6 separate regions of the Homo sapiens genome follow, and regions 2, 3, 4, 5 and 6 are each linked to region 1. The links are contacts of gene promoters, found by promoter capture Hi-C in blood cells and fetal thymus (Javierre and others, 2016). All regions are on one chromosome and are shown on one strand. The core of a region is centred on a gene start or on the middle of the fragment in contact, and the rest is flanking DNA. Distances in the headings are between cores, read along the strand shown.

The links. Contacts are between HindIII fragments. The CHiCAGO score rates a contact against its expected background, and 5 or more counts as called.
Region 2: a fragment that was not itself captured here is called in contact with the fragment with the promoter of UST in region 1 in 3 of 17 cell types (total B cells, naive B cells and naive CD8 T cells); the score reaches 7.4 in total B cells.
Region 3: a contact is called between a fragment that was not itself captured here and the fragment with the promoter of UST in region 1, in 1 of 17 cell types (total B cells). The highest score is 6.1, in total B cells.
Region 4: a fragment that was not itself captured here is called in contact with the fragment with the promoter of UST in region 1 in 2 of 17 cell types (naive B cells and total B cells); the score reaches 8.5 in naive B cells.
Region 5: a contact is called between a fragment that was not itself captured here and the fragment with the promoter of UST in region 1, in 3 of 17 cell types (total B cells, naive B cells and megakaryocytes). The highest score is 7.9, in total B cells.
Region 6: a fragment that was not itself captured here is called in contact with the fragment with the promoter of UST in region 1 in 2 of 17 cell types (total B cells and naive B cells); the score reaches 6.2 in total B cells.

What each region holds. Positions count from the first base shown.
Region 1 is chr6:148,745,638-148,748,337 of GRCh38, forward strand. UST (uronyl 2-sulfotransferase) reads left to right here and starts at 1,393. Exons shown (of 8, transcript NM_005715.3): 1 at 1,393-2,040. The coding sequence starts at 1,794. RefSeq lists enhancers at 1,022-1,081, 1,142-1,221, 2,530-2,700 and silencers at 1,792-1,881, 2,182-2,351. The HindIII fragment of the contact is 11,485 bases long and covers 1-2,700 here.
Region 2 is chr6:149,541,983-149,544,682 of GRCh38, forward strand. The region is part of intron 1 of PPIL4 (peptidylprolyl isomerase like 4); the gene reads right to left. Among named protein-coding and RNA genes, the nearest start is that of PPIL4, 2.7 kb to the right of the region's middle. The HindIII fragment of the contact is 1,724 bases long and covers 574-2,297 here.
Region 3 is chr6:149,498,281-149,500,980 of GRCh38, forward strand. No RefSeq gene overlaps it. Among named protein-coding and RNA genes, the nearest start is that of ZC3H12D, 15 kb to the left of the region's middle. The HindIII fragment of the contact is 7,040 bases long and covers 1-2,700 here.
Region 4 is chr6:149,417,030-149,419,729 of GRCh38, forward strand. No RefSeq gene overlaps it. Among named protein-coding and RNA genes, the nearest start is that of SUMO4, 18 kb to the left of the region's middle. The HindIII fragment of the contact is 4,936 bases long and covers 1-2,700 here.
Region 5 is chr6:149,522,921-149,525,620 of GRCh38, forward strand. PPIL4 (peptidylprolyl isomerase like 4) reads right to left here. Exons shown (of 13, transcript NM_139126.4): 9 at 2,223-2,289. Among named protein-coding and RNA genes, the nearest start is that of PPIL4, 22 kb to the right of the region's middle. The HindIII fragment of the contact is 2,601 bases long and covers 113-2,700 here.
Region 6 is chr6:149,371,945-149,374,644 of GRCh38, forward strand. The region is part of intron 2 of TAB2 (TGF-beta activated kinase 1 (MAP3K7) binding protein 2); the gene reads left to right. Among named protein-coding and RNA genes, the nearest start is that of SUMO4, 27 kb to the right of the region's middle. The HindIII fragment of the contact is 1,411 bases long and covers 555-1,965 here.

The DNA of each region.
Region 1 (2,700 bases), core at 143-2,642:
ACTCACTGCAACCTCCGCCTCCCGGGTTCACACGATTCTCCTGCCTCAGCCTCCTGAGTAGCTGAGGTTAAGACATATTCTTAACGAGTAAGTTCTTTGTCTAGGATAATATTTTGTAATTTTCCACAGAATATTCTTCAGATGCCTAACTTGATGAAGGTTTTCAGGAGCCTAGTCTTAGAATCATAGAGGTTCTTGGCTCCTGGTTCCTTCTTAAATCCAATTGTTCATTACTGGAATATACAAATGAGTAGGGAGCCAGAAATGATAGGCACCAGAAACTGAGGTTTCCATTTCTCAATGTGGCCTGAACTAAATGAATTAAATCTCATCCTCCTATGGGACGTGAAGGAAAAGGGCTCTGGCTGGGAAGTACTGCTGTGCAGTGGTTAGTATAGTGGGTCTGAGGGTCAAATAGATTTGAGTGCAACTCCCAACCCAACTCCTACTACTAGCTTTGGGACCTCGGGTGAGTCACACAGCCCTCAGGTGCTACAGCTTCTATAAATAGTGATATAGTATTCTTACTTAAAGTGTGGCTGATCAGAGCAGCCCTTCCGTGGATCAACCACCCCATCAGAGGATCTATGTCTAGGATTGAGCCTTTTCTGCCCCAGGAGGTTCTTTCAGGTCCAGAGGCTTTCCCGTGGAGGGAAGAGAGGCAGCAATGAAATCAGCGTATAGGCGGACTGGGCTCTTTCCCCTTCATGTCTGCAGGGCAATGACCTCCTAGAGTCCGCTATGCACCCCCCACTTGCCTCTCTGGGCACTGCGAGGTGGAGCAGTTGTAGGACCAGGAAAAGCAAGAACAGAGCGTCCTCTTCGGCTACCCTACCCGGGAGTTCAGGCGCTGCGCCTGGCCCTCTGGGGCGTGTTTGACCATAACTCGCACCGCTTGCTCTTTTCCCATTTCAGCAAAGTCTTGAGCCTGTATTCTAGTACCTTTTATCAGCCTTGGGTAAGCAGCTCGCACGGGGTATATAAGGAGAATCAACTTTCTGAACTGAAAAAAATGTAAATAGTAAAGTCAGTCGTGCTTCTTCCTGCCGGTGACTGTTTACAAGAGGGAAGTCAGCGGGGCCCCCAAGAGGTCGCTGGTGGCGCAGGAACCGCATCCAGATTGTAAAGAACGGGGGAAGGAAAAAAAAAGAAAACACCCAGAAACTTTCTTCCTTGTTGCGAATAATCGCCGCCTCCCCCCCTCCGCCCCCAGCAGAAGCAGTAACGTGACACCCGAGCGAAATCCCGAGACCCGAGCGGAGAGGGAGGGGAGAGGGAGGAGAGTGCTGCGGAGCGCCGGAGGGAGAAAGGGGAGGAGAAGGAGGAAAACCCCTGTCAAGGAGGTGGAGCGAGGGGATGGTGTCCGCCTCCTGTTCCTCCCTGCCGTTTTTTAGAGAAGCCTGAACCGGGACAAAACACGCCGAGACCTACAGACACAAAGCCGGGGGGTCCACGCTGGCGCTGGAGGCGAGCCCCGGCGGCCGCAAGCGAGCCCGAGGCGCGGCGGGGCGCGGGGCGTGGGGACGCTAGCGGGCGCCGGACGGGCGCGGCGCCCCGTCACGGGCAGCGCCCCGAACCGGGGCCGGACACCTCGGCCGCTCGGGCCGCGGCGGCGGGGACCATGCCGAAGAAAGTCTCCTGAGCCCGGCAACTTCGGCCCCTCCCCGCCCCCACCCGGCTGCCCTCCGCGCGGCCCTCCCCATGTGCAGCCGGCCAGCCGGGCTCTCCTCCTCGCGGCGGATGGGTGACCTTTTCCTGGCACGGGCAGGCTGTGGGAGGCAGCGGAGCAGGCGATGAAGAAGAAGCAGCAGCATCCCGGCGGCGGCGCGGATCCCTGGCCCCATGGGGCCCCTATGGGGGGCGCCCCTCCGGGCCTGGGCAGCTGGAAGCGTCGGGTGCCCCTGCTGCCTTTCCTGCGCTTCTCCCTCCGGGACTACGGCTTCTGCATGGCCACCCTGCTGGTCTTCTGCCTGGGCTCCCTCCTCTATCAGCTCAGCGGGGGACCCCCTCGCTTCCTGCTCGACCTGCGGCAGTACTTGGGTAAGGAAGCTGGGCAGGCGCTAGGGCGGCGCCGACAGCGCAAAGTTGTGCGGCGGGGAGAGGGTCGCGGCGGGGACTTCTCGCGCTGCCACCGCGCGCCGCCGCCGCCCCGGGTCTCTCCAGGTGCTAAGCCCGTGAGCATCTGTGCCGCGGTCGGGAGCGCCTTCTTCCTCCCGCGCGTCCGACTGTCCTCACCGAGGCGGGGGCGCCGCTGGGTTGCGCTGCCGGCAGGTACCCCGGGGCGAGGCACCGCTCACCTTCCCCCCGCCCCACCTCCGCCACCCGGATCCGGACTGGGGCGGAGTGGATGGGTGTGTGGGGTGTGCCGGAGTGTGTGTATCTTCAGGCCTGGCGGCGCGGGGAGTGGCGAAGGGAAGGGAAGGTCCTCTTCGTTGCATTGTTAGTGACCGCAGTTCAGTCCCGTCCCGCGCCCCGGGGAGTGTGGGTGGGTTTAGCCCTTTGCCACCGTCCGCTCTGAGAATTCTGTCCCGCAGATCCCCCGCCTGCCCGCCGGCCCTAGTGGCTCCGCGCTGTCCCCGGGCTGGCTTGTCCCTTGGCTGCCGCTGCCCACCCCGCCGCCCGCAGCTAGCCTGGCGCGGGGAACGGGTTGCATCCAGGGGTTTGGGGATGCCCGAGGGCGCTGGTCAGCCTGGCCAGCAG
Region 2 (2,700 bases), core at 186-2,685, 800 kb after region 1:
CAGTCTGGGCAATAGAGCAAGACTCTATCTCAAAATAAAATAAAATAAAATAAAATAAAAGGGCAATAAGTCTAGAAAAAAAACATTTTAAATTACCTTTTTTTTTCCTTTAATAGGAGTTTTGGGGCATCTGGGCTAATACAGAAAACTGACACTTATAAGCAATCATTTACTGATGGATTGATTTTATTACGAGAAAAAAGAACACTTAAAGAGCATATTGTAGTAGAAAAGGATCTAGCAGAATATATAAAAATGGATACGGATTATATCAATTAGGAAAAAGTCAAACACCCGGGGTCATTTTTTAAATAATAGTTAAACAGCCCTTTATAAAAATCCATACACTTATGAACAACCTTTCTCATACAAGTTAATCTGCTTATCCAATAAACATTTACTGAGTACCTTCTAGATGCCTGACACTGCCATCACAAATGCCATTAAACTGTGGTCCCTGCTCCCAAAAAGTTCACAGTCTAGTCGTGGAAAGACACATTAACAAGCTCTTAAGGCACTAAGTTAGAAACCAAACAGACAGTAAGATATATGAGGCAATCCCTGCCCTCAAAAAGCTTACATTAAATTAGGGTCCTTACATCTGAACACAAGTAGTTACATACTGGGCATATCTAATTAATAACATGTGTGCCACTTATTTAAAATGGTAAAAAAAGTAGTTTTAAAAATTCCACAAGAGTTCAAAAGATTGTTTCTGGCTAGGGAAATTAGAAAACCTCAGGGAAGGTTAAGGCAAGCATTAAAAGAACTGGACTAGCAGAGAGTGAAGGGTGAGCATTTTAGGTCTGGAAGACTATGAAAAGGCCTGGAAGTGGAAATTTAAATGTTTTAGGGGAGGTCCAAAACACCAAAGTTCTGTAATAGTCTGGTATTACACAGTAATAGAGCATGAAAAGACTGGAGAGATAAGATGGGGCTGAGCTGTTGAAGAGTGCTGAATATCAGTCTTGCAGTTGTTTTTCTTGAATATATTTCTGGGCTTCATGTTTAACAGATAGGGGTGGTCCTTTTACTAGAAACAAAAATAATGAATTTAGGCAATGATCATCAATGGCTGCCAAAATCTTTAGGTCTTTCATCAAAATCCGATGGGAACAATTTATAAGCGCAACAAGGCCTTAACCCACTGACCAATTTTAACATCACAGAGCCAACCAGACATCAAGTGCCTCCTGAATGTGATGCAGCTGAAAGTACACACTATCTTATATGAAATATTCTTGCCAAAAACATTAAACTGGAACCTAATCAAGGCTCTGAAGCTAAAGAACAATTTATAGGAAACAGGGGACACAAAAATATGTTAACGCACCCAGTAAATAATCAGTCGAATCCAAACAAGAGAAATTCTACAAGACAAAGCACCCAGGTTGTTTCTCAAAATTTTTTCAAGGAAAAAAGGGGGAGAACCAATAGATTAAAACATATATGAGACATTTTAACCAATATATGGACTTTGGGTCCTAATTTAAATCACCATATTTTTTAGAAGTTTATGAGATAATAAGAAAGTTTAAATGATACTAAAAATTATTGCTAGTTTTTTCAAAGTGTGATAAGATCTGTGGTTCTGTTTTTTTATTCTTTTTTACAACTTTTTCTCTTTCCTTTAGTATTTTTCCCTTTTCCCTGTCAAGTTTTTTTTCTTTTTTAACCTGTCACTTATGTGGTACTTAAGCTCATAGTTCCATTTTTTCTTGTTTTTTTTAAAGAGACGTTATATTTTAGAAATACATACTGAAGTAATTACAGATTAAATAGATGCACTGGAGGTGGGGGTATTATAAATGAAGCAAGATTGGCTATGTGTTCACAGCTGTTAAACAAAGCTGGTCATGTGGACATGAGAGTTCATTTACATGATTCTCTCTACATCTGTGTTTTAAATTTTCTATAATAAAAAGTTAAAAAAGAAAAGGAAGAAAGAATGGAAGGTAGGTAAGTCTGGATATGTTGATCATAGATTGATAAGTGAGTATAAATATAGCAGGTACACATGTAAGCACATCTCCAGTCATATGCTTACAAATATGTACAGGGGGTGGACTTATTGTTATGGGCTTATCTTTGCAGACCCACTGCTTGTTAATTGGGTGGGGTAGCTCTACACCCCTTTATTTCCTCATAACTCTGGGAAAAGAGGCCCATTTATTTTGCCAGGTGCTACTCTACATGGGCAGAGCGTCAAAGGAACTCAAAGAAAAGCAAAATCAAGAGATAAAAAACAAAATTCCCTATGATATTCTTTGAAACACTCGATCCAGCCACTCGATCCAAGCTTACCCCAGTATTATGAGGCAACCAATTATTTTGTTTATGCCAGTTTGAGTTGGGTTTCTATCACTTGAACAAAGGGTCCTAACTAATACAACACATTTATATCCATTAGTCATCATAATGAACCTCTAGTGTGTGCCCTAAAAGTAGCAGACATTGTACTGGGTACTCAGGATATAGAGATGATAATTATGGTATAGTTCCTGCTCTCATTGGAGTTTACATTCTTGAGCGAGGGCACGCTTGTAAACAACACCAGGATAATAGGTAAATGTTAAAATAAAATGTGTCATGTGGTTTATAAAAGACCTAAGACACAGCAGAGGAACCCTCAGGTAACTCTGCTTAGAAAGGAGGGAGAGCTTCAAAGAAGAGATGATGCTTGATCTGAGATTTAGATAA
Region 3 (2,700 bases), core at 164-2,663, 750 kb after region 1:
CCCAGTACAAGTGGATGTTCATAAGTCAAAAAAAAAAAAAAAAAAATCTCAAAATGGATCACAGACTTAAATGTAAAACTAGAGAATTTTTTTAAAAAAATTAAAAGTATGAGAAAAATTTCGGAAGCTAGTGCTCGGCAGAGTTCTTACTTTTGACACCAAAAGCACAATCCATAAAAGGAAAAACTGATAAACTGCAGAAAAATTAAAATCTTGTACTCTACAAAACTCTATTAAAAGACAGGCCATACATTGGAGGCTAGGCATGGTGACTCATACCTGTAATCCCAGCATTTTGGGAGGCCAAAGCGGGAGAACTGCTTGAGACCAGGAGTTTGAGACCAGCCTGGGCAACATAGGGACCTCGTTTCCACTAATAATAAAAAAAAAAAATTAGCTGGCTGTGGTGGCAGGCACCTGTAGTCCCAGCTACTAAGAGGCTGAGGTGGGAGGATTGCTTGAGCCCTGGAGGTTGAGGCTGCAGTGAACTGTGATCTCACCACTGTACTCCAGCCTGAGTGACAGAGCGAGACTGTCTTAAAAAAGAAAAAAAAAGAAAGACAAGCTATATATTGGGAGGAAACAGCTGCAAGCAACATATCTGACAAAGAACTAGTATGTAGAATACATAAAGAACTCTCAAAACTCAAAAATAAAAAAAAACCTAAAAATCCAATTAGATATAAAGTAACATTTCACCTAACAGGATATGCAGATGGCAAAATGAGTACATGAAAAGATACTCAACAACATTACCAATTAAAGAAATAAAAATTAAAACCAGAGTAAGTTATATATCTATCACTATATACCTACCAGAATGCCTAAAATAAAACACAGAGACACAACTAAATGTTGTTGAGAATGCGGATGAAGTGGATCGCCCATATGTTCTTGGTGGGAATGTAAAGCAGTCTGACTCACCCAGGAAAACAGTTCAGCAGTTTCTTTAAATATGCAATTATCATATGACCTAACAACTGCACTACTGGGCAGTTATCCAGAAGAAATGAAGACTGTGTTCACAAAGAAACTAACAGCAGCTTTACTCATTACGGTCCCAAACTGTAAACAACCCAGATGTCCTTCAATGGGTGAATGGTTAAACAAACTACAGTATATTCATACCATGAAATACTACTCAACAATAAAAGTGAACTATTGGCCAGGTACAGTGGCTCACACCTGTAATCCTAGCACTTTGGGAGGCTGAGGCGGGTGGATCACCTGAGGTCAGGAGTTCGAGACCAGCCTGGCCAACATGGCGACACTCCGTCTCTACTAAAAATACAAAAATTAGCCAGGCATAGTGGTGTGCGCCTGTAATCCCAGCTACTAGGGAGACCGAGGCAGAAGAATTGCTTGAACCCAGGAGGCAGAGGCTGCAGTGAGCTGAGATGGCGCCACTGCACTCCAGCCTGGGCAACGAGACTCCATCCCAAATAAATAAATAAAACAAAATAAAATAAAAGTGAACTATTGATACAGCAACAAACTGGAAGAATCTCTGAAGAATAAGGCTGACTGGGGCAAAACAAACCCAATCCCAAAAAGGGATTTGGTTTATAATCCTGTAAGACACAATCTCGAACACCTTAATCCTGAATGGTGAAATCCCAAAAGATCAAAATGCCTAATCTAAAATCCATAATGTCTAAAATCCCAAAAATCACAATCAGAGGATACTGGCATCATGATAGGTAGAACTACAACTTTCTCATTGTCTTTATTTGGAAATTAAGTACGGTTTAAGGAGGTATGTATGGGTGCTGAGTTGATAAGAGGTGTTCTTTGGGACTTAATTTTAGGTGTCAAGTTGATTGGATTAAGGAACACCTAGAAACTTATTAGTGTTTTGAGTGTGTCTGTGCAAGTGTTTCCAGAGATTAGCATCTGAGTGAAGCCAGTGGAAGACACTGGTTGTTCTTAAAGTATTTCAAATGACTGCAGTTATAAAGCTGAGCATACACAATTACCAACCACAGGGCTATGCATTGATACATTTCCCTTTTTGACCTATTTCTTTATAAATACCACTCATCTGTTCATAACTGTCATACCCATGTGACTGTCATTAGTAGAGCTGAGAACTGCTTATGCTTGCAAACATACGTATGTTATTGTTGCCTATTTTATTGTGTAAAGTGGCCTGTGTTTGTATTTCTCAAATCCTCTTTTAAAAATGTGAATAATCAGCCAGGTGCAGTGGCTCATGCCTGTAATCCCAGCACTTTGGGAGGCTGAAGCAGGCAGATCACGAGGTCAGGAGATCGAGACCATCCTGGCTAACACAGTGAAACCCCGTCTCTACTAAAAATACAAAAAAAATTAGCTGGGCATGGTGGCGGGTGCCTGTAGTCCCAGCTACTCGGGAGGCTGAGGCAGGAGAATGGCGTGAACCCGGGAGGCAGAGCTTGCAGTGAGCCAAGATCGTGCCACTGCACTCCAGCCTGGGTGACAGAGCAAGACTCCATCTCAAAAAAAAAAAAAAAAAAAAAAAAGTTAATAACCTGAAGTCAGGGGTTTGAGACCAGCCTGGCCAACATGGTGAAACCCCATCTCTACTAAAAATACAAAAATTAGCCGGGCATGGTGGCGCACACCTGTAGTCCCAGCTACTTGGGAGGCTGAGGCAGGAGAATCACTCGAACCTGGGAGGTAGATGTTGCAGTGAGCTGAGACTGTGCCACTGCACTACAG
Region 4 (2,700 bases), core at 75-2,574, 670 kb after region 1:
TTTGAGGGGTTCAAGACTTCAGTGGAGGAAGTCACCGCAGGTGTGGAAATAGCAAGAGAACTAGAATTAACAGTGGAGCATGAAGATGGGACTGAATTGCACTCTCATGATCAAAGTTGAACAAATAAAGAGTTGCTGTTTATGGACGAGAAAAAGTGGTATCTTGAGATGGAATCTCCTCCTGACGAAGATGCTGTGAACGCTATTGAAATGACAACAAAGGATTTAGGATATTACATAAACTTAGTTGATAAGCAGCCACAGGGTTTGAGAGGATTGACTCCACGTTACTGTGGGTAAAATGCTACCAAACAGCATCACATTCTACAGAGAAATCTTTCATGAAAGAAAGAGTCAGTCGATGCAGCCAGCTTCATTGTTGTCTTATTTTAAGAAATTGCCCCAGTCACCCCATCCTTCAGCAGCCACCACCCTGATCGGTCAGCAGCCATCACCCTGATCAATCAGCGGCCATCAAGACCCTCCACCAGCAAGAAGATTATGACTTGCTGAAGGCTCAGATGATTGTTAACATTTCTTAGCAATAAAGTATTTTTAATTAAGGAATGTACATTTTGTTTTTAGACATAATGCTATTGCACACTTAATAGGCTGCAGAATAGTGTAAACAATTTTATGTGCACTGGGAAACCAAAAAATTCATGTGACTGACTGTATTGTGATACCCACCTTATTATGGTGGTCTGGAACCAAACCTGCAATATCTCCAAGGTATGACTGTCAGGACAGGTGTGTCTTTGTGTCCCCATAGCAAATAACTTCATACATGGCAAAAGGTCAGTAGTTGATGATGATTCTTTTTTTATTTAAGATAGGGTATCACTGTTTTGCCCATCCTGGACTTCTAGGCTCAAGCTATTCTCCCACCTCAGCCTCCCAAGTAGCTGGGACTACAAACGTGCCCCACCGCACCCAGACTTGATGATAACGACTCTTAACATGAAGGCCAAGTTAATTTCTAACATTTATTCAAGTTAACCAGTGGGTACAGCCATTTTGAATGTAGTATGTATTTTCCCCTAGAACTAGTATTAGAAGCAGTAGGTTCCCAGGCCAGCCCACTAATTAGCTGGAACGCTTTGCATTTGGAAAACTGAAATAAGGCACAATCATACTATTGGGATAGATAAATGTAACAATGAAACCCAAAAATAATGTTTCTGGTATCTTCTGTGTGGTGCCAGAGGGGGATGAAGAAGTAGAGATCTTTGTGGATATTCTGGAAAATTCAGAAATTGGCATTTCAACCTGAGGCCTCTGTTACATCTAACTTTACTTCAAATTTTAAAGTTTGCTTTTTCATGGACCAAAGTGTTTGAGTGGCTTCTTCTTAGACATAATGAATGTCCTTTTTTGTTTTTCTTCAAAATTGAAGCAGAGGGACATGGGAGAATATTTTTCTGGAGAACACTGGTCAAGAGAAGAGGAAAGAAAGAAGAAAATTAAATGCAAAGTATGTAAAAATCCTGTCTTATTCTTTCCCAAGAAAGGTGAAGAGACAGGCTTCTGACTAAACGATGAGCAGCAGAGAGCAGGGACTCTCACTGGTTAAACTCCACTGGGTCTGATAGCCAACACATTGCCTGAGAGTGAGTGACATGAAACAAGCCCACATTTTATTAATCTGAATTGAAGTCTTAACTACTACCTTTTGGTTTTTAACACAAGTCTTTCACGTGCCCTTTTGCTGAACTGCCAAATTCTTTTTGTAATAAAACAGCATACACATCTTAGAACACCAATTTGCTAACCCAGACAACCAAGCTCTGCTAAGGTAATGAATGAGAAGCAATATATGCAGTTTCCATTCCAGTGAATGATAATAGGTGATTTTTGTTATGAAGTATCTCAAAGCATGATTATATTCAATATCGAATGACAAAAACACACAGCAAAGATTTTTAAACTTCCACCTGTATTGCTCTCTTTATTAACCATAATCTCTTTCTTTTCTACTGTTTATTATGTTTTGTTTTGTTTTTGTTTTGAGACAGAGTCTAGCTCAGCCACCCAGACTGGAGTGCAGTGGCGCGATCTCGGCCCACTGCAACCACTGTCTTCTGGGTTCAAGCGATTCTCCTGTCTCAGCCTCTTGAGTAGCTAGGATTACAGGCACCTGCCATCATGCCCAGCTAATTTTTGTATTTTAGTAGAGACGGGGTTTCACCATGTTGGCCAGACTGATCTTGAACACGTGACCTTAAGTGATCCGCCCACCTCGGCCTCCCAAAGTGCTGGGATTACAGGCATGAGCCACTGCGCCTGGCCTCTGTTTATTATTAATATGCTAACAGTTAACAGGTAACTACTGGCTTCACATTACAAGAAACAAGGGGCTCCCAAATTTGGAAACGAGTAAAGAATAAGTAGTACTCACTGAAAACCTTAGGCCAACTGTCATTTTGTCCTTTTGATTCCAGTTTGTGCTAAGGTAGCAATAGTAATTTCTCAGTTCTCAATCTGCACAATCATCTTTATATTTCAAAAATTTCACATTTTGAATTTGCTACTTCCTCCTTTTGCTAGTCTTCCTAATCTTAGCCACATTCTCTCATTTTCTTCACTGCTTTATACCCTGCTTCCAGCTTAGGTCTGGCACATAGTAGGTGGGCAACAAATTTTGTTACGTTATGAATTTGATGACAGGGTCTAGCTTAATTTTTCTATGATTTTCCCCAA
Region 5 (2,700 bases), core at 163-2,662, 780 kb after region 1:
TTTAAATAAATGGTGCTGTCACGTGGCAATCCAATGTATGAAAAACGAAACAATGTAATACAATACACCAAAAGCAAATTACAGAATTGAATGGGAAACAATTTCACAACAAAGCTTCTAAAAATAATACAGGAGAATATCCTCATGTCTTTGAAGTAGGAAAATATTTTTTAAATAGGCCACTAAAAAGGAAGAAAAATACTGACAACCTGAACCATTAAAATTAGAAATTTGTTTATAAAAAGACACCATTAAGAAAGGAAAAAGGCATGCCTGTGGTCCCAGTTATGCAGGAGCTAAAATTGGAGAATCACTTGAGCCCATGAGCTCAAGTCCAGCCTGGGCAACACAGAGTGATCCTGTCCCTTAAAAAACAAAAAAAAAGTAAAAGGAAATCCACAGAGAAGATATCTGTATCACACATAATCAAAAAAGAGCTTGCATCCAGAAAATATAAAGAATCCTTAGAGATCAATAAAAAAGTAAAACAGCAGGTGCAGTGGCTCAAGCCTATAATTCCAGCACTTTGGGAGGCCAAGGCAGGTGGATCACTTAAGGTCAAGAGTTCAAGACCAGCCTGGCCAACATCATAAAACCCTGTATCTACTAAAAATTCAAAAATGAGCCAGGTGTGGTGGCAAGCACCTGTAATCCCAGCTACTTGGGATGCTGAGGCATGAGAATCGCTTGAAACTGGGAGGCGGAGGTTGCAGTGAGCTGAGATCATGCGACTACACTCCAGCCTGGGTGACAAAGCAAAACTCTGTTTCAAAAAAATAAAAAGAAAAAAAAAAAAGAAGAAAATGGCATAGCTGCAAAAAACTCAAAACATGGGCAGTCATTAGTCTATGTGCTACAAATGAAATTTTATTTGTGAGAAAATAAATAATAGATTCTATAGTGTCAATGATAGAATGCTAGTGCAGGTCTACAAGTTTTCACAGCAAACCAAAGGTAAAGGTCTTTCTGCTGGCACCAATGTACCTTGTAAGTATCATTTCTGGTACATCTGACACAGTGCCTACATATAACTTTATGGTCTATCTTCCCCAACCCTCCATGATTCATCTTGTATCCCTAGGCCTTATTGCTGTGTCTGAAAACATAAAAGGTATTCCATAAATGCTTTGTAATAATTAGAACTTAGAATGAGCTACTACTGGATACATATGAGTCCAAAGTTGCATTAAAAAAGAGCATACCATAGCACAGTGTAAACTCAATGGGAACAGAATCAGACATATCTGAGTTCAAATCCCAGCTATGACATTCATTCACTAGGTGTGTGATTTTGAACAAGTCACATTAGCATTATGTGTCTCAGTTAACTTATTTGGAAAAGGGGATGGTCCCTATCTTACAGAACTGTGAGGATTAAATGCAGCAAAAGTAACATAATGCCTAGCTTAAAGTAAATATTTAAGCAACATAAGCTATCATTATTACAGCTCTAGAAGGGGCCATCTATTCTAATACCCAAGTTTTATTTATAAGAAGGTAAGACCTAGAAAGAACGGTTAACTAAACTGCCAAGTATCATACAATAGCTGGCTAATAACAAAAGATGTATTAATATCTAAATCTTAACACCCAGTTCAGTTCTCTTTCTATTACTCAACTTTATCTCCACTTAAGTAACAGGGAAAAATTAAGAGTCTCTGAAGGGCTTTACTTAGAACTTAAAAAGTTCTAAGATTGGCTGAGTGTTGTGGCTTATGCCTATAATCCCAGCACTTTGGGAGGCCGAGGCAGGTGGATTGCTTGAGGTCAGGAGTTCAAGACCAGCCTGGCCAATATGGTGAAACCCTGTCTCTACTAAAAATACAAAAAAATTAGCAGGGCATGGTGGTGGGCACCTGTAATCCCAGCTACTGGGGAGGCTGAGGCAAGAGAATCGCTTGAACCAGGAGGCGGAGGCTGCAGTGAGTCGAGACTGCGCCACTGCACTCCAGCCTGGGCAACAGAGTGAGACCCTGTCTCAAAAAAAAAAAAAGTTCTAAAGATACTTTCATGCAGATTGCACCTGAACCTAAAGTAAAAGTACGTATGTTAACATCAACAGATGTTGAACTTATCCCCTATATAGATACAATAAACTTAATTTTGGGGAGTGCCAAAAGAAAGGGCAACTCTAGAAACTAGAAAAAGTTCTATAATTTTTCACATTTTAATACCATATAAAAGCAAATAAATACCAAACTTATGTCTGTATTATGACATACCTTTTCAAATTCAATAAAAGCGTAACAGAGGGACTCTCCTGTCTTCCAGTCTCGGATAACTTCACAACTGAAAGAAAGTATTTAAAAGTGACTTAAAAAAAAAAAAAAGGAAGAAAGCATTCACTCTCACTCTTCAAAACTGAAGAAGAAATAAGTCAGTTACTACAAGGCAAAGTTAAATTCATAGATTATTTTTCCAAATTCATTTAATAACAATTCTTTTTTAAAAGTAGTTCACCAGAGCAGTAACTAAATTATCTAAATTCTACTCTAAGTGCCTTATATAGGCCTACAGTCCTAAATTCCCTTAAGCACTGAAGTAAGAATAAAAATATTTAATTTTCCTTTGGCAAAAGTAAACTACTGCTAAAGACTTTTAAAATCACAACACTTTTCTAGTCCAAATATAGTCGAATTATAGAATATCTAACATCTAACATTACTGTAGAATAATGTATGCATACTCATACATATATAA
Region 6 (2,700 bases), core at 10-2,509, 630 kb after region 1:
TCTCCCTAACTTTTCAAGTAAAAGAGAATTTTGTGGTAAAATAAAGCTATGCTGTTCAGTAGGTTATTAAAAAACTAACAGAAAGATACTGTAAGTTCTTTGATAAATTTCTGTAGACTTCGTATTGAAAGAACTGTCCAGAGCATTTCCCTACATATAGTACAGGTATAGAGATTTTGAAATACCGTAACTGGGAGTAAAACATAGAGCCTTTTGTAGAATTACTTTAAAATATTTTCAAAAAAAAAATAGAGCACTCTAATGTACTCTTACAGTATAATCTCTGGTATGTGTTAAGAAAAACAAGATGCAGAGCAGAGTATATAGACAGAGCAAGACAAATAAATATTTACACATCCATGTATTTGTCTCTGTTTGCATAAAGAAATACTGGAAGAATTAAAAACAAAATTAATAAAAGATGTTTATCCATGGTAGGCCAGAGGGAACAGGCCTGATGGGACAGAGTTAGGACTCAGACTTCTCAACAGGTATCTTTTTTTTATTGTTTTAATCTGTGTTAATAAATTATCTATTTAAAAATAAAATAATTAAGCTTTAACCCAAAAATAAAAAATGAATGGTTTTCCGTTTCCTTTGGGCATCTAGTAATATCACCTTCCCTATGTTAATCTGGCTTTACAAAAGCAAACTCCTCTACTTAGCATGCTTCCCAACACCTGGTGTTAATGAAAATGAAATACTTTGCTTGCCTGAAACAGACCACACTTTTTAAAAGTGAGTTGATAATAATTTAGGGTATCCAGGTAATGTACTTTTTAGCTGATATAACAAGAAATCTGACAAGAAAGGAATAGGAAGAGCTCCTTCCTCTGTGGTTTCAGCTGGGGTGCAAGTTTTCCCAAATTTAGAGCAATATTTTTAAACGGGCAAATTAAGCTACCTCTAAATGACAGCGTCTCTTTTGGGGCTGCTCTTCCTTTCTCAGTTGGGTGGGTTTCTGTTCTTTTGACAGATCCTTCCTGCAGTATACTGGTTCAGAACTTTTTAAAATTAGTAAAGGATCATGCCATGCTACCAATTCTGTGTACCTGTTCTTTTTAAACATCTTGCTTGTCAGGGAGAGAACAAAAGTGTCTATCCTCTTTTCTCTTAAGTTTATCTGTTGCACAGTTCCCTCTTTTTGGAACTACTCATATCTTTTCCTTCTGCTGTGAATTCTGTAAGATAACTTATAACCAGCAGGTGTAATTTATATCTTTAAAGTTGATTTTTATATTTGGTAATTAAATCTGAAAACTTAGAAGAATGTGAAAATATTGCATAGTTTTCACTTTGGTTTTTTAACTTAATTTTTTACCGTTTTTAAATTCTCTTAACATGACGATTGAATCTGTAAGTTTAAAATTGGTATTTCTTTTCAAAGTACTGCATTAAGTATTTTTCATTCAGTATATGCAACACTTAATATTTAAGTGCCATGTACTTAGTGGAACCTTCTCAGATGACCTTCACCCATTGTCCTTATCCATATTTCTATGATAACACCTACCATACTGCATTTCATTTGTGTTCACATTATTCTCCTCCACTAGACTGAGATTCTTGCGATCAGCGATCATATTCCTTTCTCCTTGCTAATGAATGCTCAGTAAATGTTGGTTAAAGGAGTGAATGAATGCCATAGGGTATATATGCTTTGATACTATCTGTAATTTCTGTGTCTGTGCAGGAGTTTGGGGAAAAATGAAAGAGGAACTGGAATTAATGATTCAGACCTTTTTATAGCTTTGAGGAGAATGCAGATTTGTGGCTGTATACCAAAAAGCAGTGATTTTCCACCTTCTAAAAACTCATATCCCACCCCTTTTGATACACTTCAAGAGAGTCTTCTACCCTTTCTCACTAAAAGTAACCAGGGCTGCTTTGAGAAATGGCTGATTGCAAGTCTGGAGTAGATGTACATGATAAGCTAGAACATCTTGTCATATCAGAAAGCAGAGAAGCTTTGAAAAACTACTGGATTCATGTCGTATACCGAGGAGCCAACTTGAAGCTGTTCCCAGTAACTTGAAGAGGGGACATAATGACCAAAACTGATTGAAACACATCAAAATATTAAAGACACATGAGTTTATAATGATACTAAAAATAAATCATAGTCACCTTTGGAGGTTGCTAGGGACCAAATTTGTTACTCTGAAAACTAGTGAAAAGAATTTTTTTATCCTGCCTCTTCTGTGCAGAATGTAACCAAATAGTTGAAGAGAGCAAGCATTCAAGGAAGAATTGCTGCTAAGAATGAAGATGAAATCCATTTTATGTTTTTTGGAGACTGGGTCTCGCTCTCACCCAGGCTGGAATGCAGCAGTGGGATGATCATGGCTTACTGCAGCCTCAACCTCCTGGGTTCAAGTGCTCCTGCTACTTCAGCCTTCTGAGTAGCTGGGGCTGCAGGTGTCCTACTCTACCTGGCTAATTAAAAACAAGATTTTTTTTTAGAGACAGGGTCTCACTATGTTGCCCAGTCTGGTGTCAAACTCCTGGGCCCAGCGATCATCCCGCCTTGGCCTCCCAAAACGCTGGGATTACAGGGGTGAGCCACTGCGCCTGGCCAAAATCTTATAATTGGGACATTCCAGTATTACTGTTTAGCACCCCTAATGAAATAGTGTTTCTAAGCAGTGATCATCAATAGCTGCTAAAAATCATCAGTTGGATCAAGCTGACAACATCTGA